Linked DNA regions of Homo sapiens: all the other regions are linked to region 1. Evidence: promoter capture Hi-C in 16 types of primary human blood cells and fetal thymus (Javierre and others, 2016). All regions are on one chromosome and are shown on one strand. The core of a region is centred on a gene start or on the middle of the fragment in contact, and the rest is flanking DNA. Distances in the headings are between cores, read along the strand shown.

Region 1 (3,139 bases), core at 1-2,500:
CCACGGCGGCCCCGGTACCCGCGGCCTGGCCGCGCGCCGGGTCCCCACCGCGGAGTGGGAAGGAGGAGGAGAGACTGGAGGAGTTGGAGACAGACACAGCCGCGGCGCGCAGTCACGGCTGGAGACAGACGGCGGCGACGGCGGCGGGAGGCGGGACACTCCCCCCTCCGGCGACTGGAGGCGGGACACCTCCCCGGCGGCCGCAGCGCCGCGTCCCCTCTCTCCCCGCGCTGAGGCTGCGGACCGGGCCCGGCGGGATTAGCAGGCGAGTGCGTTGGCCCTGCCCGCTCCGCGCGCCGCCGCGGCCGGCCGGGGATCCCCTGCAAGCCACTGAGCCGCTGCCGCCGCTGCAGCCAGACAGGCTGCGGGTGCCTGGGAAAGTGGAAGCAGGGCGGGGAGCGCGGGGGAGGCCCGGGGGTGAGGTCCTCAGCTCTTAAAGAACCCCGGCGCGCCGCGCTCCCCGCCGGCCCGCCGCGCGCCCCCTGCCGCGCCCCGCACAGCGCCCCTCCCCCTGGCCAGCAGGGCCGGTGGCCGCGGAGCCGCACTGCGGGCAGTCCCCGCCTCCGCTCCGGGGGGGCGGCCCAGGTGAGTGCGGACCCGAGGTGGCCGCAGTGGTCGGGGCTTCTGGCCCAAGTTCACCGCTGCGCTCCGGAGGGAGGGGTGGCGGGGGACTCGGGAACCGGACGCTTTGGGAACTGGACGTCCGCGAGCCTGCGCCGTCGGCTGGGGCCGGAGGGAGAAGCTGGGCGCCGAGCGCGCGAGGTCTGTGAGGCTTGGTCCGGGTGGGCTTGCCGGTGGGCACGGCGGGGATCCGGGGCTGGCCCGCGGGCGGGGTTACGCCGGTGGAGGGACTTCGCCGACCCCCACCCCGTTTTCTGTTTCCTGGTGCCCTGGGGCGCAGGGTGTCCCGCGGTTGCAAGACTGAATTCTGCACCGCCCGGAGGCCAGGATGGGCGCGCGGATGGCAGCCCCAACTGTCTCCGCGCCCCTAGGCCTCGGCGAGCCGTGGCGGGCAGGGACTGGAGGTCAGCGGGAAGCGGGAAGATCCTGCAGGACCTGACCGGGGAGTTTGCGGGAAGGAGGGGGCGGGCCAAGCCCCGCAGCCCCTCAGTCCCGCATCCTGCACCGCGCGCTCCCCGGCCCCGGCCCCTCGGGCCCGCTTCACCCGGCGTCCCCCCGGGTCCCCCCGCGCGCGTTGACGTCGGTCGCGGGACCGCCCGGAGCTCCCGGCATTGGCTGGGAAGTCGATTGTCTGGGGCTGCTGCTGTTGCACTTAGGCTGGGTCTCCGAGCCCCGGAGGAAGCAGGCGTGTGTTGAATTTCTCTCTGCCCCTCACCTTGGAATAAACAGGAAGCGACAAGCACCCAGCCCGGCCCGGCACTTGCCTTTGTGAAGGGGTCTGCCCTGCACAGCCTTTAGGAAGCTTCCTCGGGACCCCTTCCCGGTGCGCCGCCCCGGGTGGGCCTGGGGGCGCGCCCTGTGAGTACACCGGTGGAAGACAGTGGGTTCGGTTTAGGTTAAATCGCTATCGTGGCGGAGAGGGCATTTGCTTGTTTAAACTTTTTTTTTTTTTTTTTTAATTGGAAAAGGAGAAGGTTTCCCGATGAGGCAGAGGTTTTCAGGACGACAGGGACGCATGGTGGGTGGGCGGCACTGGGGGAAGGCGCATCCGAGAGTACAGCGTTCTTGGGTCACCTACCTGGAGGGACACCTCGTCGCCAGTCAGGGCAGCTAGAAGCTCTTTAAAGCAAGCAGGACTCCTTAGCTCTGCCCAGGCACAGGAATGGTTGCTGTGTGCCCATAGCCGCATGAACTAGCATGATTTTTGTTTTTCCCCCAAAATTTTTTAATTAGCTAGAATTAGATAATTTTGATTTGCTTCTTTTCTTTTCCTCTGTGTCTTGGTCTATTCCCTTCTCTTTTTCTCTTTTCTAATTATTTTGGCATCTTCTCATCCCCGGACCAGCGCTGCTTTCTAAATGTTAATTACCATTGCAATACATATTTATTGAGGGCCTACTATGTGTTAGGCATTGTAGGATGTGAGGTAAGAGTAGCTGCACAGAATGTGGGTTCTGAGCGCTAGTATTAGTAAGTTATTTGCAGTAGAGGTGGATAGAGATGGTGAGCAGCATTGACTCTCAAAAATAGGGTCCTATGGCTGGTAAGGAGGTTGGTGCCTTCTCGAAGGGCTAGTGCTGGGAAGCTTCCTTTTAAAAACGGCCCTTTCTGCCGGTTTGGCTAGCCAAGAATGGCATCCTCCTCTCTGTATCTTCCCTGGAGCTTCAGGACTGAGTATTGAATGACAGAGAAGGTTCTGCAAAGTCTGCACAGGGAGACTGCCATTGCATCAAGTCATGTCTGCATTCTGTATATGGTATTGTCTTTTCTAGTCTTTAACTCGAGTGTGTTGTCATCTGTAACTCTCCCTTTGTACTCTGCACAATTCTTCTGGAATATAGTCTTTGTGTTCAGTCAAGGATCAGAGTGTCAAATCTGAGTCATTACATAGACAAATGAGGATGTCTGAGTATTACCCATGTATATTTATTGAATTATATTTGGTTTCCCATCAACCCTTGAAATGTTATTTGATGGACCTTTCTAAGCAGTGCTTTTTAAAACAGGGGGCTAACTTCCTTATGATCTTTGAAAGCTTAATTCTTTTTAAGAGCTTCATTTTGCTATTGACATTGAACACAGTGTTAGGAATTAGGGCTGGGAATGTAAATGCCAGTAAGGGATTTGCTGTAATGGAATTGTAGCTACCTTCCTCCCTTGTTTTAAATGACCTCTCTAATTTCTTAACATTCTGCTGTTACCCTTGGAAGGGCTTGCCATTGTTGGCCATGGTCCTGGTTCGTGTAGGTTTGTATTTACATTGGAGAAGACTCTTCCCGGCAGGTTTTTAGGGCTGTCTCTTGAATCCTCTCATGGGCTTGGTTTGCAAGACCACAATCCTGCAGTGGAACGCAGCCAGTGCCAGCTGCTTATTAAGGGATTTTGTGCCAATTTGTTGGCACATTATTTGAGACTCCTGCACCCCACCCTACTCCCACTGGAGTATATACATACATAGACAAATATTTATTTTCCCCCAACTGCTGACAGTGTTCTAAGAATAGTTTTCTTGCCTGGC
Region 2 (3,139 bases), core at 180-2,679, 490 kb before region 1:
AAGATGGGTAACTAGCTTTTTAATTCATGCTTTTGCCAAGAACAAATTGATACAAATCACATAATGCTGATTTTTTTTTTAATCCCTATTCTTTTTGAATGTGATTTTCCCTAATAAACTTCATCTACAGCCTTTCTGGCATATCTTTATAATTTGGAACTTAAAGAAATTTATCTTCAGTTGACATGAAGACAAAGAAACTTTATTTTTCCTTAACAATAAAACCTGGCTATAAAAGTGCCAACCAAAAGGAACACAAAAGGAGAGTTTTATAATTCACTTTAAAAGGAGATTTGATGGTAAAGTTTAAAGATTAAAATATTTTGTTCTTCAATTACAGAGCGATGACCCCACAGTATCTGCCTCACGGTGGAAAATACCAAGTTCTTGGAGATTACTCTTTGGCAGTGGTCTTCCCCCTGCACTTTTCTGATCTAATTTCTGTTTTATACCTTATACCCAAAACACTTACTACCAACACAGCTGTTAAACATTCTATACAAAAAAATTGTATGATCTGGTATTAGGAAATTACTTTCACAGTAAATATCAAAGAAAAAAGATTAAGGGTCTCTTTGCCATGCTTTTCATCATATGCACCAAATGTAAATTTTGTACAATAAAATTTTATTTCCTAAGTAATTTTGTCTTAAATGTATTTTTTTTAATTTCAGACTCTCTATTAGCTTCCTAGTTTGTCTCTAATAAATCACCACAAACTTAGTGACTTAAAACACACCAGTTTAATTTTTTCATTAACTAATTAATTAATTTTCATTCTGTATTTTAAGTAAAATGAGACGAGGTCTTGCCATGTTGCCCAGGCTGGTCTCAAACTCCTGGGCTCAGGCAATCCTCCTGCCATGTCCTCCCAAAGTGCTGAGATTACAGGCATTACACCACTATGCCCAGCCACAAATTTGCTTTTAAATTCTGACTTCTGAGTTCTAGGAGTCAGAAATCCAACAGTGGGTCTGACGAGACTAAAATCAGGGTGATCGCAGGGCACTGCTCCTGAGGAAGGCCTTAGGGAGAATTTGTGTTCTGCTGTTTCCAGCTTCTAGAGGCTGCCATATTATTTGGCTCATGGGCCCTTCTATCTTCAAAGCCAGCAGCTTAGCATCTTCAAATCTCTCAGTTATAAAAGGACCCTGTGATTGCATTGGGCCCACCCCAATAATCCAGGATAGTTTCCCCATTTTAGAATAATTTTACTATAAAAGAAATAATAAAAATAGTTATCATTTTCGAGTGCCTGCTGCATACTAGTCACTGTTCACCCCTAGTCTTTGGGATGTACGATTTCACTGTGTTACCTCTGTGCCTTGGCTCTCTCATCTGTAACACAAGGGCTTGTAATATTTAAGGATACAACTACTTCCCAGCACTCCGGAAAGGTTTCCTTTTGATATGTAAATCATGCTGGATTCTGTGGCCTATTTCTGTTTCCCTTTTGGTTAAAATATGAAATGGGGGTTGACATCAGCAAGATGGCAAAATAGGAAGTACCAGTCCTCATTACCCCACAGAGACACCAGTTTAATTTATAGACCAGGATACCAGAAACCAGTTAAGTTGCAGTATCCCCAGGTGAGTGCAAAATTAAGAACAGCCACGTTGAAATGAGTAAGAAGAGTCATTTCACTTTACTCCACCCAGGATGACAGCCCAGCATGATGGCGAGTACGCCAGCTCCTGGCTTTTCCCTGGGTTGAAGGGGGCAGACTCGGTGAGGGGGAGAGAGGTAGAGAACGTTGGAGCATGTGACCAAGATTCTGACTCTTTCGTCTTGTCTGACTTGGAATACTGACAGAACTGGCATCCTTTGGATGTCTGGAGTCTGCTAAAAGCACGGGAGAGTTGGAGGATCGTTTGCCGTGCCACCAGAGCCTGTAGTACCACAGACAGGCCAGTGTGGCTGGACACCACCAAGAGAAATCACCCAACTTGCATTTTCTCTCCCAGGAGGAATGGAACTTACACGCCAGCATTGCAGCTTTTTGTAGTGCTGCCCAAGGGACTGTTGCCCATCTCATCTAACTTGGGGTGCTTATAGGAAGCTGTCATGCTTTGCCAGAGAGCCACTGAGAACAAAGGGGCGACTTGCAGCTGCAGCACTAGGGAACGTGCAATTCTGAAGACAGACACCAGAGGGAGCAAGAGATTACAAGATGAAAAACCAGCAACCTTCAGTTGGGAAATAACACAATCCTAAAAAGTTGAACTTGGAAAAACATTTAAGAGGTTTCAGAATCTCTACCTGGGCTAGCTGGTGAAGGTCTGCCCTGTACAAAGCCAGTATGCAAAGATTGGGAGTGGCCGAGTGTAGTGCCTTACACCTATAACCCCAGCACTTTGGGAGGCTGAGGTGGGAGGATCACCTGAGGTCAGGAGTTCGCGACCAGCCTGACCAATATGGTGAAACCCCATCTCTACTAAAAATACAAAAAAACAAATTAGCCAGACATGGTGGCACACACTTGTAATCCCAGCTATGCGGGAGGCTGAGGCAGGAGAATTGCTCAAACCCAGAAGGCGGCGGTTGCAGTGAGCCAAGATCATGCCACTGCACTCCAACCTGGGCAACAGAGCGAGACTCTGTCCCAAAAAGAAAAAGAAAATATGAGGCTCACTGGCAAACTAAATATAGACAAATGCAGAATCCTTCAGGACTATAATGGTAGTGCACTTTTAATTCTGGTCCAGAATTGACAAGACAAAGCATAAAAATAACTGTAACTGGCCAGGCACGGTGACCCACACATGTCATCCCAGCACTTGGGGAAGATTTCTTGAAGCCAGGAGTTTAAGACCAGCCTGGGCAAAAAAGTGAAGCCCCATCTCTAAAAATCAAAACAAACACTGTAACTATAAAAATATGTTAAAATATCTTAATGGGTACGCACTATGTAAAGGTGTAATTTGTGACATCAATAATTTTTTTTTTAGCTTTTGCACAGCAAAACAAACAGCAGAGTAAGCAGACAACCCACAGAGTGGGAGAAATTTGCAAACTATGCATCCGACAAAGGAATAATATCCAGAATCTATAAGGAACTCAAATGAGCAAGAAAAAAATAATCCCATTACAAAGTGGCAAAGAACATAAATAGACAATTCTCAAAAGAAGATATACAAG
Region 3 (3,139 bases), core at 363-2,862, 480 kb after region 1:
GACCTGAGTGCTAACATTTTCTTAGCCTTCTCCTTATCAGTAAAATTAAGTTATCCTTTTATCGCGTGGTATTTATGAGATAAATGAGCTGGTTAAGTGTCTAGCACTTACTATGCTTTACCAATAATTATTAGTTCTAGCTCCCTTCTTCATCTTCTCATCTATGACCTGGTCAAACCAAGCTCATATTCTTCCTTCATCTAAACTTTTGCCATTATTTAATTTGGGTGACCATGCAAAATCCTACACTATGGGTAAAAAAACTCTTTTTCTCTCTCTACTCTCACACTCAATGTAGAATACTTCTACAACTAAATGTGAAGGAGTTTTCTCCACACATCAAGCAATACTCTAGAGGACACCAACTGGGTACCCTATAATTCAATTTAATTCTAACACTGTCTTATTTGAGTTAAGAGTCAGAATCCACAGATCAAGGGCTCAGTCCCACAAGACTACTCCTACTCCCCACTTCAGATGCAAATCACAAGTAGTAAGTTGTTACCCATACTTCTCAACAGGCTATACATTCAAGTTCCCACCTTGGGTTCAATTAATTTGATAACCCTTCCATTGGAGAAACTAATAAGATTTACAAGCCAGATTTTAGGCAGAATTATAGTTAGGACCTGACCAGGATGCATGCACTGGTGCACTCTGGCCCACTTCCCTATAGCTGCTGAGAGTCACATAGCATGCTGAACCACCTACTCCCTGCTGTTCCTATAGACAGAATCTCTGACACCGGACCTTTTAACCTAAGAATTGGTTAAGGTGTTTTCCAGATCCTGAATTCCAGCAAAACAGCTGACACCAAACTGTCTGAAGACCCCCACCAAGGAACTAACTCAGCAAAGGAATGTAGTTTCTTCATCTCCCTGTCACCAGACTTTACCTCTCACTTCTCGATTAATCAGCAATCCCCACACTTTAGCCCATCACTTGTCCAGAATCCTTAAAATCTTCATCTCCAAACCTCTCGGGAAGGCAGATTTGAAGTTCTTAAAGCAAACTAAATATGGCCTAAGAAGGACTCCATACTTCTATATTTGAGTCCTTGTGAACTGTAACCTAGCTTAAGAGGCAGACAAGACTGAAAACCAAACTTAGGAGTATGCACCTGTACAATAGCTGAGTCTTGACCAATTCCAGTGGCCAGCCATACTTCAACCACTCATAGACTGCTAAGTGTTCGAATAAGGCAAATGCCAACCTATAGCCAATCCAGCTGTTTCTATACGTTGCTTCTGATTTCCGTATATCATTTCCCTTTTTTTGTCTATAAATCTCCCACCACGTGGCTACATGGGAGTCTCTCTGAATCTGCTTTGAGCCTGGGGGCTGCCTGATTTGCAAATCATTCATTGCTCAATTAAACTCCTTTAAATGTAATCCAGCCTAAGTTTTTAACAGATGGTGTCAGAAGTGGGATCTGAAATAGAGCTTCTAATGATCTCCAGGAGCTCCGAATGAACAAGCAAGGTACCTGCTGGACCCACTTGTGTCCTTTGATCCCTCAGAGCAGCTGGGGATCATGGTAAGTTCTCTCAGATTTCGGAGCTCTACAGATTTGTGTTTTGAGCTCTTGAGTTTCTCTGAGCAAATTTCTGGTCCAAACTGGGTTTGGAAATCGCAACAGAAATCGAACTGGGTTCAGGATCAGATTAGATCTGGTAATTAACTGGTTTGGATCCAGTTAGAGGCCTCTTACATCTGACTGGGTCAGAAAGAAACTGATAGTAAATGGTAATATTGCAGGGGTTGTAAAATTTGGCTTTTAAAAATTTGCAAGGATTTTTGTGTTCTACCCCTTTGTTTCATTTTTCTTGTGTGTTTAAGTAGGGGCAAAAAAAAATCATTGGCTAAGTTAATCAAGGGAACCTGAGACTATAGCCAACATTTTAGGCAAAATAGGATCCTCAATTTCTGGAAATCTAAGTTCCTTCCAGCTTATACATTAGGCAGAGAAAGCAGCAAAGTCTTACAGAATGGCAAAATCTTACTAAAGCTAACTTACAGTAGAATGTTCTGAATAAACCACAATGCACTGAAGTGCATTTAAAAATGAGGTCTCTCAGAAATTAAATCTACTAACCTTTTAGCTTAGTTATTATCCAGATCCAAAGGAAATAGACTGCAGTACCAATTGGCTGACTTTGGATAAGTTATGGGGTACATTTTACTTGAGTAAAGGATGGAACTGGGTTAGAGGCCCTCCTGTCAGTAAAGTCTCTCTTGGATAAAAAATGGGTTAAAGATGACAGGGCCCAATCAGGGGCAAATTTGAACCTTGCCAGTTCGATAATTTGGCGCCCCCATGCAGCTGGTTGGGCAGCAACTTGCAAAATTAAGAGACTTTTACCCGTGGTTCCACAAAACAGAAAAAGATGATTTTGCTTTGTGTGGCGGCTTGGCCCCCAAGGCTGTGGTGCAGCCAGCCAGGTCACAGGGCCACTCAGAGGAAGGGAACTCAGAAGCCTGGCATGCCAGCAAAAGGGTAAGGCTTTCTTACCAGTCAGACTTCTACCTCTCTCTCCCTGTGCAAACTGGTTGAATGAATGGTAAAAATCACTATCTCTTGTAAAGTTTTGAGTAATGGGAAAAAGGATTTATGAGGCTAGTCTTAAGCTGCAGCCAATTTGGTATGCTTGCTATGTCTTCCTGTATCCTTCTGTCATAAAGACAGCTAACTTAGAACAGAACACGGGCTTGAAACCCCATAAGCCCGCTGCTCAAGACGGCCCAGCAAGCTGGTCAGTAACGAACTTTGCTGCAGGTCCCTCACACAAACAAAAAAACTGTACGAGGTCTCCATCGTGTTTTATTTCCTTCGGAGCTTGATCCTGTGACCACATGGCTACACTTACTCTTGGTCTCTGCCTTCCAGGGAACAGGAATTTTAAGGTTCATGTCACGGGTAGCTCTAAAAATCATCCTGAGTAGTTAAAAGCCTTTGCAAGCTCAAAATTAACTACTCTAGACTCCTTCTGGAAAGGGCAATGGAGGCTGCCCAGTGCTGTAGCTCAGTAGCTCATGTTTTCTCTTTCATAGTGGTGATCCGGGTCCAATACCTGGCTTAGGGAATGAGTTCTTTCCTGTTTGATATCTTCATAACTGTTACCATTTGTTGATTCTCTTC
Region 4 (3,139 bases), core at 464-2,963, 450 kb after region 1:
GTTCTGCAATCTCATTTAGTACTAACTTAATACTACATAACATACAAATGATCCAAAAGAGAACAATGTTAACATCTGCAAAATGAATAGGTAAAATTCCCCACCTCTGGTTCTATAGATTTCTGGCTCAGGTGGTTGAATTCCAAGGCAGGCAGCAAAGAGGCTCCCACTTCTCTGAGTGCACATGTGCCACTCAGGCATCTGGGCCAGTATGATCAGACACACTGAGACACCTCCATGCTCATAAGGACAATTGAGTAGTGAGCTTTCAGTACCAAAAAATGTAAGTGGCTTGCAAAAAAGATATTTAAACAGGTACAAACAACTTTGGTGACATTTAATCTATTTTATTTTAGGCCTTATAGAAACTCAATTTTGAAAATAAAAAATAAATGAAGGCCCCCATTTCAAAAAATGAACTTTGGCCAACAGAAAAAATATGTCCACATTACCTAACAAGTTATATTTTCAGAAGGAATCCTTTAATTCAGAAATGTGTATCTCACAAAAACATCTTCTCAACATATCATTTCAGAAAAAGCAGGAAAGATGACTTTTTTTGCCTCATTGGCTAAAAATCATCTTCTGTCCATTCCATTGTAATTACTATCTTCTACAGCAGCCTGATTCATGTCTGAATTGGTTAAGAAATCCTGAATGACCCAAACCCAACACTAAGAACACAGAAAGAAGCTCAGTGTGTCAAATATACAATTTCCTTCTTTTCTTCAAACATCTTTCTGCGCATACTATTAAGATCTTTAAGGCCAGGCGCGGTGGCTCATGCCTGTAATCCCAGCACTTTGGGAGGCCGAGGCGGGCGGATCACGAGGTCAGGAGATCGAGACCATCCTGGCTAACACGGTGAAACCGTCTCTACTAAAAACACAAAAAATTAGCCGGGCATGGTCGCGGGTGCCTGTAGTCCCAGCTACTCGGGAGGCTGAGGCAGGAGAATGGCGTGAACCTGGGAGGTGGAGCTTGCAGTGAGCCGAGATCGTTATCACTGCACTCCAGCCTGGGCGACAGAGCGAGACTCTGTCTCAAAAAAAAAAAAAAAAAAAAAAAAAAAAATATATATATATATATATATCTTTAAAATTCCTGGAATTATCATCTAAGATCACTGAAACAAGAGAGCCAGTATCTCCATTTCATCCTGAGCATAAAGCATTTGTAAGTAAGTGTAGATTCTGTGACAAATAAACACACGATTATATTTCAAGGGATAAATTTATTATTTTCACTACTGGGAGGTAGGTAATCTCAGTATAAGCATTCTTTTTCTCCTTTCTTGAAATCTGTAAACAGCACCCTGCTGTATGTACAAAAGGCTGTCTCAGTGAAATACATTTTTTGATGTGGTTGGTTTTGCTCTTATTCCTGAATAAACTAAGTCTCTCACCTAATCCATCTTTCATTTCAAATATCAATTTGCTTAGCAAACCCTTTTTGTGCATTTTACACAGGCGAATCTCAGTCCTAGCTCCCTCCCCACCCGGTCAACACACCTCGCATAAATGCAGACATGCCTTTAGCCAGGCATGGTGGTGTGCACCTGTAGTCCCAGCTACTCAGCAGGCTGAGGTGGGAGGATCACTTGAGCCAGGAGTTCAAGACGCAAGTGAGCTATGATCATGCCACTGCACTCTAGCCTGGGTGACAGAGTGAGACTCTGTCTCAAAAAAATAAATATAAATATAAATATAAATGTAGACATGTAAGACACAGGGCTGCTTCTGCCGAGCACTCGCAGTTCACAGAGGTTATAGGTGAATTAATCCCAAGTGTGAGGTGTACTGTAAATGAAATGAGGTCTATTATACATAGCAAACTATACTGTATATATTCTCAATTATTTAACTTGGCATATTGGTACTGTATTCTGTTAGCCTGCTATTAATACTCCAAACTCAACATATTACAGGAATCCCTGAAACTTAAGGACTAGGTTAGCAATATGCTAGCAACAACATTTTTGTAACATTCCTGGTGCCAAGTAATACAACAGAGCTTCTCACATCTTCAGAGCATTTTTTACTAGAGAATTTCATATCATTCAAGCAGTAACTCATTGTCTATTAGACTAACACAACATGATCATGAAACTGGATGGCAACAAAACTCAAATGGACTAACAAAAGATGTCTATGCAGGAAAAGCAAATTTTAGTTTCAGGATTATTAGTAATAAGAACCTCCAATTTATCCCCACTGGAAAATATGCAACATGAAAAGTAAAAGGAAATTGTTTTAGAAAAATTCCATATAACACAAGATTTTCACATAGTCTCCAGTGGTTAAAAAGAAAAAAGAAACAAGGAACATGTTTAATATCTTAAAAAACAGCACTTAAACCTGCAAAAATGTGAATTATTTGATAAATACTTAAAAAACATGTTAATCATGTTTAGATTTGAAAATGTGGCATCAATGTGAAGCAGTGCATTCAACCCTCTGTATCAGGAGACAGCGGTGCTGCCTGCCCAAGACTGCAGAGAGCAGAGACACAGCTGCATCTCTCAGCACTCTCCCCGGCCCCCAAGAAGAGATTCCAATCACAGCATATTCATTTAAAAAGCATTCTAATATAGTAATTAGACTCATCAAATACAAACTTTTTTTCCCCTTTAAACTATACTCTAAATTTGGCCAAACTAAGTACTTGATATAAAAATCCTGGCAAAGAGCAGGGGTCCCTGCGGGACTGTGTGGCAAACCCAGACATTCTCTCGCCTTAGCAGATAAGTCAAAACAAGGACAATCTAAGAGGCCATTCCCTCATCCAATTAGCAATTGAAGGGTTAGAACTGAAATAGTCACTGTTAGAGCACAGGAAATAGACACTTACATACTCAAACACACCCCACCAGCCCCGCAACGCTCACAGCTGACAACGGCTGAATTTCATTACAAGCAAATGATTTAATGATAGCTTTGTTAAGATGGTGAAACCCCATCTCTACTAAAAATACAAAAAAATTAGCTGGGCGTGGTGGTGGGCGCCTGTAGTCCCAGCTACTCGGGAGGCTGAGGTCAGGAGTTGGAGACTAGCCTGGCTAACATGGTGAAACTCCACCTCCACTAAAAATACAAAAATTAGCTGAGTGTGGTGGCACACGCTTATACTCCCAGCTACT
Region 5 (3,139 bases), core at 302-2,801, 390 kb after region 1:
AAAAGATTGGCTCCCATGGCCAAGATGCCCAGTGACAGGGAAGCTAGCCAAACACAGTAAGTGTGTTGAGACACTGGGGAATAGCTGATGGCCGTTAAATGAAAGAAAAAAATGTTGATTTTCTTTTTTTATATATGAAATATTCATTTTACACCATGTTAAATCCCAGAGCGGGCTATTTATAACCATTTCAAAATGCAAATATGTTCATTAGCAAAGGAGAGAAGAACTTTTCCAGTTCCATGAAGTTCACCAAAGCCCTAATTTTTTTTTTTTTTTTTTTTTTTTTTTTTTTTTTTTTTTTGAGACGGAGTCTCACTCTGTCGCCCAGGCTGGAGTGAAGTGGCCCTATCTTGGCTCATGGCAACTTCTACCTCCCAGTTGCAAGCAATTCTCCTGCCTCAGCCTCCTGAGTAGCTGGGATCACAGGCGTGTGCCACCACACCTGGCTAATTTTTGTATTTTTAGTAGAGACGGGTTTCGCCATGTTGACCAGGCTGGTCTTGAACTCCTGACCTCAGGTGATCCGCCCACCTCGGCCTCCGAAAGTGCTAGGATTACAGGCTTGAGCCACCGTGCCTGCCCCACAAAGCCCTAATTTTAAGAAACAGACAGGTACAGTGGCCTACAGCGCTCCTCACTAAGGCCCTGGCTTGAGGGCAAGCCTATCATGTGACTGAGCCTGACCAGGAAGTGCTGGCCCAGGTGGCAAGGAGCCTCGGGGCTCCAGGGACAAGGGGCGCTGGTAGCCAGGGAGGGGCGGCTTGAAGTGGCTGCAGCTTCTAATTCTTTCTGAAGCTGCCTCTTTCTGAGGGTGACTCCCTCTTCATTCACCCAGCAGGGTGACTCTGAGAAGTCAGGGAAAGTCTGGCACAGGGAGGGGAGTTCCATTTTTAATTCGGAAATTGCTCAGGAAGAATCATACCATCCGGATTTCCCTCGCGGCTGTATATTAATAAATGGTCACTTTCCTTGCTGAAATTCTCTGGTTTCCTTTTATCCACGTGAAGCTTCTGGAAACTCTTCTGGGTGGTTCTTCTGTTGCTTTTCTGCCCCTGCCCCCAAAAATGAGAACATGAGAAAGTGATGTCTTCTAGCCACCTGGAGGACCCTGCGGTGACATCAGGGCCCAGTCCCTGCTGTCATGCCCCAGGTGACGTGCTGGGCTGACAGCAGGGCTGGCCGCTAACGTCACTGTCCTGGCTTCTAACGCTGGTAGTAACCAACAGAGTTTAGTTTTGCTTTGACAACTCCTCCTACAGCCAAAACTATTGTTATGGCCCACATGTCATTCCTATTTACCCTAAATAAGGAAAAACAAAGGCTATTCTGGGCTCCCGGCAGTGCTTGTGGTGGGGGTTATTTGCAGCGTTACCATGGCAGGCTGCCCTTTCCACCACGGCCACCCCGTGATTTTCTCTGAAAACTGCGACAGACTCGCAGCCTGCCCTGAATTTTCTTCACACAGCCTGGGGGCATCCGAATGCACGGGAGATGTTTTACACTCAGATGAAACAAACTGTTTAGACCTCGGGGAAAAGAGACTGTGCTTGAACAAAATGAACCAGGAGAAAGCGCCCTCCTGAGACATGTCTCTGCTTTCATGTTTGAATTGCCTGGGATTCTGTTCTCTAATTTCTGATCCTTATAAACTAAAACTGCCTAGGAACATTGAGCATCCTGACTTTGAAGGAGTCTCTGTGGTGTTTTTGTGCTACCATACATGGGGAATAATGATGTGAGGCAGAGGGAGAGGGAATGAATGGGAGAGCCAAGAGGGAAGAGCGAGCCGGGGGGAAAGGAGCGCGCAGTGTTTCCTGCTGCGGTTAGGACCTCACGCCTTGCCAGTACAGAGCTCGGTGGCAAGAGCCGCTGGGAGCTGCTCCCATCAGTTAGAGGATGTGGAGAGGGAGCACCAGAAGAGGACAGCCCGCAGCCTGGCTCGCAGCCTGAGGGACGCTGTGGGTGCTCCCAGCCGGGCGAGCACGCTCTGGGAGCGGATCTGCAGGGGAGAAGCACGCGAGCCTAACGTGAGCGTCCCGCCTGTCGCGTGTCCTGCCTTGGTAAGCGCCCTCTCCGGTCCTTCCACACTGAAAGCTTCCAGCAGAGATCAAGGGAAGGAGTATTGTGTGAGACTTGCAGATTTCCTCCTTTCTGTCTGGACTGGTTTGATATTTGCCTGTTGAAAAGATTACTGAACGCAGTGTGACAAGATGAGCCGTCTAGCTGCGTTCTGCTTGCCTGTGTGTGTGACACGTCCAGGTGTGAGGCCAAACCTGAGAAGTGCAGACTGCTCACTGATAGACGTTGCTGTAAACAGTAGTGCCCTGGGTGTACAGCTGGTCTCAGGATCGGAGACCCCGGACTTATTCTCTGCTCGGTGACACGGCCGGCTTCCTGCCGCAGAGCTCCTGGTTTCTGTTGATGGCAGTTGATAATTGGTAGCCACAGTCTGCGGTCGGAGCCACAGCATTTGAGTCTAGCACCTGGGGTGGGCCCTGCTGATACAGTAGAGAGAGAGTGAACGAGGCAGACAGAAACACACCCCCCCCCCCTCCACGCTCACACACTCTCCCACACCCCATGCCAGCTATAACTGCAGCTCTGAGCTGCCTGGAGAGGAGATTGCCGGAAGCTGAAGGGATGCTTTGAACGTGGGGGGGCTGCGTCACAGTTGGACTCCCACTTGCAGAGGACCTGATTATGTCCAGTGACCACCTGAACAACAGCACACTGAAGGAGGCTCAGTTCAAAGACCTGTTCTTAAAAAAAGGTACATTTCCCAAGAACTGCTATGGATGATGCATGCTCTTTCGGGTTTGCTGTGGTTCTTCTTGGAGTTTGGTCTGAGGACAGAGCTGAGAAGAGGAGAAGCTCTTTCTCAAGAAGTTTCTTTCTACCTAAGAGGGGTCTGTCAACTCAGAACATTTCCGGGTGGGACTCCCTTTAGGAAGATGCATGTCAGGCTTTTTCATCTTCTTTCAAGCCTGGAATTAGTTTGTTCCTGTTGGAGGTGTTATGCATGAGTACACAGTTTGTTGCTTTGGAGTTTTGTTTTTTTCAAATGTCTGTATATAAGGCTGAGACCTCCCCTGGAAATTCTGCTACTTGTTAATAATTCCTTTTTCTTCACCCTCAT
Region 6 (3,139 bases), core at 390-2,889, 370 kb after region 1:
TTATTTCCTTAGCTTTAGAATGTCTACAAAAAGGGGGGAGGTCACTTTCAATCTTGAAAAGTTAGTCCTCAAATAAGTTTATGTAGTAATAGCCGGTAGCTGATCTTGAATCTCTTTCATATAAATTGGATGGCTGTTTCTCTACATTGCCAACAATTTCTTTATTTTAGACTTCTGGAACACCCTGCATCTGGAATCCAGAAAGCCTTTTTGTATGAGTCGCACCATTTTCTTGGTTCCTGTAGAGGATGTGGTGCTGAGATTATTCATATCGGGAAAAAAAAACCATTCTCAGAAGAATAATTTCTTTGTCCTCCTGTCCCATTGAGAAGCTTTGTGAAAATACTGTGAAAAGACAGAATTATTTTGGCTTGAAGCTGAAAGCTGGTGACATGTATGCTCTAAGTGGTCTCACTGTGCGTGGGTAAGGGGCCTGTGGCTTCTCTAGCACCTGCTTGGGAGGGGCTTTCTTCTCCTTCTCCTTTTCAATAATTTCATCTTGAACCTCTCTATTCTGAATGGACCAGTGGGAGTGATACTTTTTTACACAGAGATTTATACATAACATAACAAATTTGAAGGCTGGGAAATGAATCTATTGATTTCTTCATTTTCTGAAAATGTTTGGAATTTTATCTTTTTTCAGTGAAATATTACAAATAAATTTACAGATGGGGCTTCATTAAGGAATGTATTTTAAAATATGTGATCAAAACGATTCATTATTTTTTAAATTTCAGTTTCCTCCCTTGCCCTTAGCATGTTATTTTTTTTAGGGTCTCTGGTTGTTACCTCACCAAGCGAAGGGACAGCAAGTTCCTTTTCTCCCTCTGCTACTCGCCGGGTGTTTTTGTACGCAGCTTCCATTTCTGAAAACACTTTTTGGCCTCTGTGTTCTTAGGATTGAATTGTTCTTGTGCTGTCGACACAATCCACTCATGTCACCGCTAGTTTCTTGAAACTATCTTGACCTTGTTTCAGAGAAAGTGGCTTCCCTAATCCTACAGTCCAGCAAAATTTACATTTCATGATGCACCCGTTCAGCTGTGTGCTCACTCAGAAAGCTCTGCGGAATCATCTAGCACTCTGCCATCTTTTTCCTTTTCTTTTTTTTTTCTTTTTTTCTTTTTTTTTTTTTGAGACAGAGTCTCGCTCTGTCGCCCAGGCTGGAGTGCAGTGGCGCTATCTTGGTTCATTGTAACCTCCGCCTCCCAGGCTCAAATGATTCTCCTGCCTCAGCCTCCCGAGTAGCTGGGACTGCAGGGTTGCACCACCATGCCCAGCTATTTTTATTTGTTTATTTTCAGTAGGGATGAGGTTTTGCTGTGTTGGCCAGGCTGGTCTCGAACTCCTGGCCTCAAGTGATCCACCCATCTCAGCCTCCTGAAGTGCTGGAATTACAGAAATGAGCCAGCATGCCCAGCTTGCCATCTTTTTTCTTCTGTGGTTGGTTTCTGTCCCCAAACTGTGATGGGAGAAGGCAGGTGAAATGATGGTTGGATGCCACTGCAAGCTGCCTTTTCTGTGTGGGCTCTTGGTCTGTGTACATGGGGCCCCATGGCACACTGAGTTTTACCTAGGAAGGCTTCAGCTGTTCATTTTCGTTTGCAAATCCTCCGTGGAGACCCAGGGAGAGACTGCAGGAGTTGCTTCTTATTTCTTGACCAGGGTTTCCGCTCCCATCACCGTGGCTTTTTGGGGAGCCTTGCTGGTGTGTTCCTGGGATGGCTGTGGCCTGCCACTGTGTCCTCTTACACAGGAGTCAGCCCTGGATGAGACCTGCAGCCCTGTGGCCTTGGACTCCCACCTTTCCCCCAGGCTGGGTCCCTCAGGCATGGCCCTTTCCCCCAGTGTCCCCTTAGGCATGGCCCAGTTTGCTTGGTAGGGCCTGACACTCTTCAGATGGTGAAGTCAGAAAGAAAGGAAAGTCTAAAGGAGAGAAGCAGCTCAGAGAAGGGAGAAGAGGGTTTGGGAGGAAAGGGAAAGAGGTGTTGAGAGGTTATGACGCCCAGGAGAGGTGAATGCAGGGAGGGAATGGAGGGGCCCAAGGAGTGACAGGCAGACGGGGTCTCTGATCCGGGGGTGCTGGGCCTGCCCTGCAATCTGAGTCACAAAAGCCAGTGGGGAAAGACAAGGCAGGCATTGGGTGTGCGAGTGGGTGTGCATGTGTGTGGCTGCGTGTGTGGGGGTGTGCACGTGTGTGGCTGTGCATGTGTATGGGTGTGCATGTGTGTGAGTGTGCATGTGTGTGACTGCATGTGTGTGGGTGTGCATGTGTGGGTGTGAGTGTGCATGTGTGTGACTGCATGTGCGTGGGTGTGCATGTGTGGGTGTGCGTGGGTGTGGGTACGCATGTGCGTATATGGAGTACGGGGGAAGGAGATGTGGGTAAGGGTTTGTGTATGGGAGGGTGTGTGGGTATAAGTGTGTGCATGTGAGGGGGATAGGTGTGTATATATGTGTGTGCATATGGAGTGTGGGGGAGATAGGGGTGTATGTGCGTGTGTTGGTATGTGTATGTGGGGGGTAAGTGTGTGTGTGTGCGTGTGCGTGTATGTGCACGTGTTGTGTGTGTGCGCCTGCACACGGAGAGCCCACTCATACGTAGCAGAAAATCAAATGGCCCCAAATCAGAAACATGGCGCATGTGAGCATGCCACTTCTTGTGTGCCTGTGACTGTTCAGAATGTACACGGCCCTGCAGCTCCCGAAGGCCAGCTCTGCTGCAACCCCTCCTCTGTCCAACACAGTCCTCACTGGTGTCTTTTCCTCTTCAAATCTACAGCATTTCTGATCTCTGCAAACAATTTAACCCAAAACCAAGTTCTGGCTGACAAGGCTACATCTTGTTTCTTGTGCGTGATTAGCCTCGAGACCCAAGGAGCTCCCTGCCCTTGACTGATTCATTCTGTACCTGCTGGACCTGGAAATGCATTAAAAGCTCAGGAAAGCTTACTGATCAATTGCACTGGAGATTGAGTCTGGTTTGGGGCTTTACATTTGTAAAGCATCTTATGTGCAAAAGTAATTTGAAAGACCAATTTATTATTTCTAATTCAGAGGTCTCATTATCATCAGATGGAATGGAGGAAGCAGTGGCATGAGTTGGTGCCCTTGAGGCTGGTGCTTGTGTTCTCCC
Region 7 (3,139 bases), core at 259-2,758, 270 kb after region 1:
GGGACATGGGTTAGAAGAAGGAGGGAGGAGATTTGTGCCAGGGATGAAAGAAAATGGCTAAAAGATGAATGAAAGTTGCATATATCTCTTTTTCTTCTGTAAATAACTCATGATAAAAGGGAATAAAATTTAGGTTTTCCCCACTTGGAAGAGACATGGCCAAACGGAGTGTGTGCTTTTCCTAAACCACCGTGAAGGTAGCATGAAAACCAGGCTTGCTCTTCAGAGACTAGGAGGCTCCTGTTTTGGGCACTCCATCTGCCCTGCTGCCGTGAAAGCTCTCGGACCCAAATGGCTTCCTGTGATCCACTGTGGTCTGCTTATTATATTCCCTTCAGCTATGTTTATAACTCTGTCAACAGCCACAGCGTGAGTACCCCAATCGGATAACAATAACCTAAAATTTTAAATGCTCAAAAGTCAGAAACATTTTAAGTGACAATATGATGCTCAAAGGAAATGTCCATTGGAGCATTTTAGATTCAGATTTTTGGATTAGGAAGGTGGATGTATAATAGAATAACTGGTAAGTATAATGCAAGTTTTCAAGATCCAAAAAAGTTCAAAATTCGAAACACTTCTGACTCCAGGCATTTTGGATAAGGGATACCCAACCTATATTATGAAGTGGTAGCAAGAAAATTACATTGAAATGGAACATTTTTTCAGTTTATGTATCCTTTTGTGAGGTTTTTATTTCAAAATATCACAGTCCAAGCCAAAAAATATACGTGGGTGTTTCAGTTTATGAAAACTGTAAGTTATGTTTACTTTTCTATATGTATATATTTTTTTACCTCAATAAAATGATAGCCCCAAACTCTCTTCAACCTTACCTCATCTGTGGTTTATAGACGTTTCCAGGGGAAGTTTTTTAAAATGATGTGTTCCAGAAAGGAGTAAATGGAATATTAAAAGCATGCAGCATGGCCCATTCTGGAGGAGGGCCAGGCTTGTCAGGGAGATGGCAGGATGTGCATTTTTGCACATCCTTGGCTCATTGGCATGGCAGGGAGAGTCCAGCTAAAGCTTCTGCACCCCCTGTCCCCTTTAGATCTGGGCCTCTGTCTCTGGACGATATTCTGTATCTCCAGCCTGAACCTCTCAGATGTTGGAAATTAACCTCAGAGTGAATCACTGGGCTGCCATAGGGATTTAGTTGGACACAGTGGGTGGCCAAGTCGTCTCTGCTCCTCTTCATGGTAGTGGGGGCTGCTCTCTACCATCTAGACCCACCCTCATGGGAAAGGCCGCAGACCCTTACTCAGCCTGTGGGACACCAGGCAGAGTCCCTTGCAGCTGATGGTGAGCTGAGGTGCACTGTATTTCTGCCACAGGGATTTGTTAATGATTTACTTTAAATGTCCACCTGCAGGGTAGCTGGGACGATGAAAGCATCCCAAGACCTCCCTTTTCCATCTGTGGCTGATCACCTCTGGAACCCACAGCTAGCCGGCTGCTCCTCCACTATCAGATGGCGGCTGTCAGTCATGGGCTTGTCACCGAGTGCATCCGTCATGCTCGGGCCATGGGCCGGCACCTGTGTGTGTGTGTCCAGCTTAACGACAGAGATTTTTGGAAAGACGCCCTAAGATAGACATACTTGAAACTGAGTGAGAATAAGTTTGACTTATTTCTTTTTGAGATACTTTATATGTTTGAAATAATTAATAGCTGGCGCCAGTGAATCTAGTTTCTGTCTGTTTCCTTTAAAGATTATATGTAGTGTTGGTGATTGGGATTTAGTAAGCTATATTGAAGATGCTAACGTTTGATTTTATAGCAAAAAAAGAAGCATTTGTGTGGAGCAAGGACGTTTGTATATGAGCAGTCATAAAGTTAATGTCAAGTGGCCCGGCAGGGACTTTTACACCCATTTTACAAAGAACAAGACCCAGAACTAGAGGCCAGGAAAACAGATCTTCTGTTTCTCACCCTGGTACTTTTCCCATCAGGTGACAGTGTTTGGGTCTGCACCACGTCAGGCCAAAGCTTTGCACGTTGGTGCTGTCTGATAATGAAATTTGCAGAACACCACCGGGAGGCTTGCATGAATTGGTGCGAGGAAAAGTAGAGGCGCTTCCATCATTCAATTGATGGATGACTATGAGGCTGACTTTATTGTTCCTAGCACTGAAATCCTGTTTTTCTTGGGTATAATGAATACAGTAGCATGGTTTATGCTACCTTCATAGAGTTTTTGCCCCCCACTGAAAATGCAACTTGTCATTCTCTAAGATCCATGCCACCAAGACCCAAGACACCAAGACAAGACCGATTCGGGCAAGTCTAGCTAGAAACAGGCCACGCTCTTGTCCCCAGAATGGCCAGGACACCATCAGGCCTGAGGGGCACAGAGGAAGGATGCGAGTGGCCTGCCACAGGACTCATCCACCCCAGTGCACGGAAAGGTGAATCCTGGATTTCTCCCCTATTCCCGGGCTGTTGATGGGATCTCATCTTTGTAAAGTTTCTTCTGGTTCCGAGTTGCCTCTGCCGGAAGGGACGTCCTTTCACAGCCCAGCATTGCTGTAATCCGGTGGAGTGGCTGCAGTATTAACAGATGGAGTTGGTCCTCCCTTCCCCCCCGGGTCTGAATCTGCCTGCTCCTGTGCGTTCACTCTTCCTGCAGTCCAGCTGGGGAGTAGCAGCTCCTTGGCAAACACCTTCTTCTCCAGCCCCGTAGAACGCCTGGCCTCATCAAAAAGGCCACAGGATGGCCAATGGGCATTGTCAGACCCTACTCAGGAGTGGGATCTCCACTGACTGGGGCGGCCCTCCAGCAGGTGTCCCAGGGCCTTAGATCCCTCCAGAGAAATGGTAGCTGCTCAGAAGATGGAGCTCTCCTGGAAACTCCTGAGTCACCTGGGCAGTGGGGTGCCCTGGGAGCACCAGGTCATGCCATACCCCCCTTCCTCATTTTCTCCATCCCCACAGCTCCACTCTTCCTGCCTTTCCCTTGAAAATGAGTGTGGCAAATAGAGGAGAACGGGCTGGGTGCAGTGGCTCACACCTGTAATCCTAGCACTTTGGGAGGCTGAGGTGGGAGGATCGCTGTGCTACCAGCCTGGGCAGCATAGCAAGACCCTGTCTTCACAAAAATAAAAATAACAGTAGCTGGGCATGGTTGTGTGTGCCT

The links. Contacts are between HindIII fragments. The CHiCAGO score rates a contact against its expected background, and 5 or more counts as called.
Region 2: a fragment that was not itself captured here is called in contact with the fragment with the promoter of LDLRAD4 in region 1 in 1 of 17 cell types (fetal thymus); the score reaches 5.6 in fetal thymus.
Region 3: a fragment that was not itself captured here is called in contact with the fragment with the promoter of LDLRAD4 in region 1 in 6 of 17 cell types (non-activated CD4 T cells, naive CD4 T cells, M2 macrophages and 3 more); the score reaches 8.2 in non-activated CD4 T cells.
Region 4: a fragment that was not itself captured here is called in contact with the fragment with the promoter of LDLRAD4 in region 1 in 16 of 17 cell types (naive CD4 T cells, non-activated CD4 T cells, activated CD4 T cells and 13 more); the score reaches 18.0 in naive CD4 T cells.
Region 5: a fragment that was not itself captured here is called in contact with the fragment with the promoter of LDLRAD4 in region 1 in 13 of 17 cell types (fetal thymus, non-activated CD4 T cells, M0 macrophages and 10 more); the score reaches 37.9 in fetal thymus.
Region 6: a fragment that was not itself captured here is called in contact with the fragment with the promoter of LDLRAD4 in region 1 in 14 of 17 cell types (activated CD4 T cells, M1 macrophages, fetal thymus and 11 more); the score reaches 15.8 in activated CD4 T cells.
Region 7: a fragment that was not itself captured here is called in contact with the fragment with the promoter of LDLRAD4 in region 1 in 13 of 17 cell types (M0 macrophages, non-activated CD4 T cells, megakaryocytes and 10 more); the score reaches 16.0 in M0 macrophages.

What each region holds. Positions count from the first base shown.
Region 1 is chr18:13,217,510-13,220,648 of GRCh38, forward strand. LDLRAD4 (low density lipoprotein receptor class A domain containing 4) reads left to right here and starts at 1,251. Exons shown (of 7, transcript NM_001378100.1): 1 at 1,251-1,479. RefSeq lists a silencer at 42-411. The HindIII fragment of the contact is 2,786 bases long and covers 1-1,421 here.
Region 2 is chr18:12,725,099-12,728,237 of GRCh38, forward strand. PSMG2 (proteasome assembly chaperone 2) reads left to right here. Exons shown (of 7, transcript NM_020232.5): 7 at 341-642. The coding sequence ends at 433. Among named protein-coding and RNA genes, the nearest start is that of LINC01882, 23 kb to the right of the region's middle. The HindIII fragment of the contact is 7,922 bases long and covers 1-3,139 here.
Region 3 is chr18:13,699,680-13,702,818 of GRCh38, forward strand. All of the region lies in intron 1 of FAM210A (family with sequence similarity 210 member A), which reads right to left. Among named protein-coding and RNA genes, the nearest start is that of FAM210A, 25 kb to the right of the region's middle. The HindIII fragment of the contact is 9,088 bases long and covers 1-3,139 here.
Region 4 is chr18:13,662,133-13,665,271 of GRCh38, forward strand. FAM210A (family with sequence similarity 210 member A) reads right to left here. Exons shown (of 4, transcript NM_152352.4): 4 at 1,215-3,139. Among named protein-coding and RNA genes, the nearest start is that of MIR4526, 53 kb to the left of the region's middle. The HindIII fragment of the contact is 3,990 bases long and covers 1-3,139 here.
Region 5 is chr18:13,610,002-13,613,140 of GRCh38, forward strand. The region is part of intron 4 of LDLRAD4 (low density lipoprotein receptor class A domain containing 4); the gene reads left to right. MIR4526 (microRNA 4526) reads left to right here and starts at 1,113; the gene lies at 1,113-1,199. RefSeq lists an enhancer at 2,623-2,852. The HindIII fragment of the contact is 1,087 bases long and covers 1,009-2,095 here.
Region 6 is chr18:13,587,809-13,590,947 of GRCh38, forward strand. The region is part of intron 4 of LDLRAD4 (low density lipoprotein receptor class A domain containing 4); the gene reads left to right. Among named protein-coding and RNA genes, the nearest start is that of MIR4526, 22 kb to the right of the region's middle. The HindIII fragment of the contact is 2,619 bases long and covers 331-2,949 here.
Region 7 is chr18:13,489,857-13,492,995 of GRCh38, forward strand. The region is part of intron 4 of LDLRAD4 (low density lipoprotein receptor class A domain containing 4); the gene reads left to right. Among named protein-coding and RNA genes, the nearest start is that of LDLRAD4-AS3, 20 kb to the left of the region's middle. The HindIII fragment of the contact is 963 bases long and covers 1,028-1,990 here.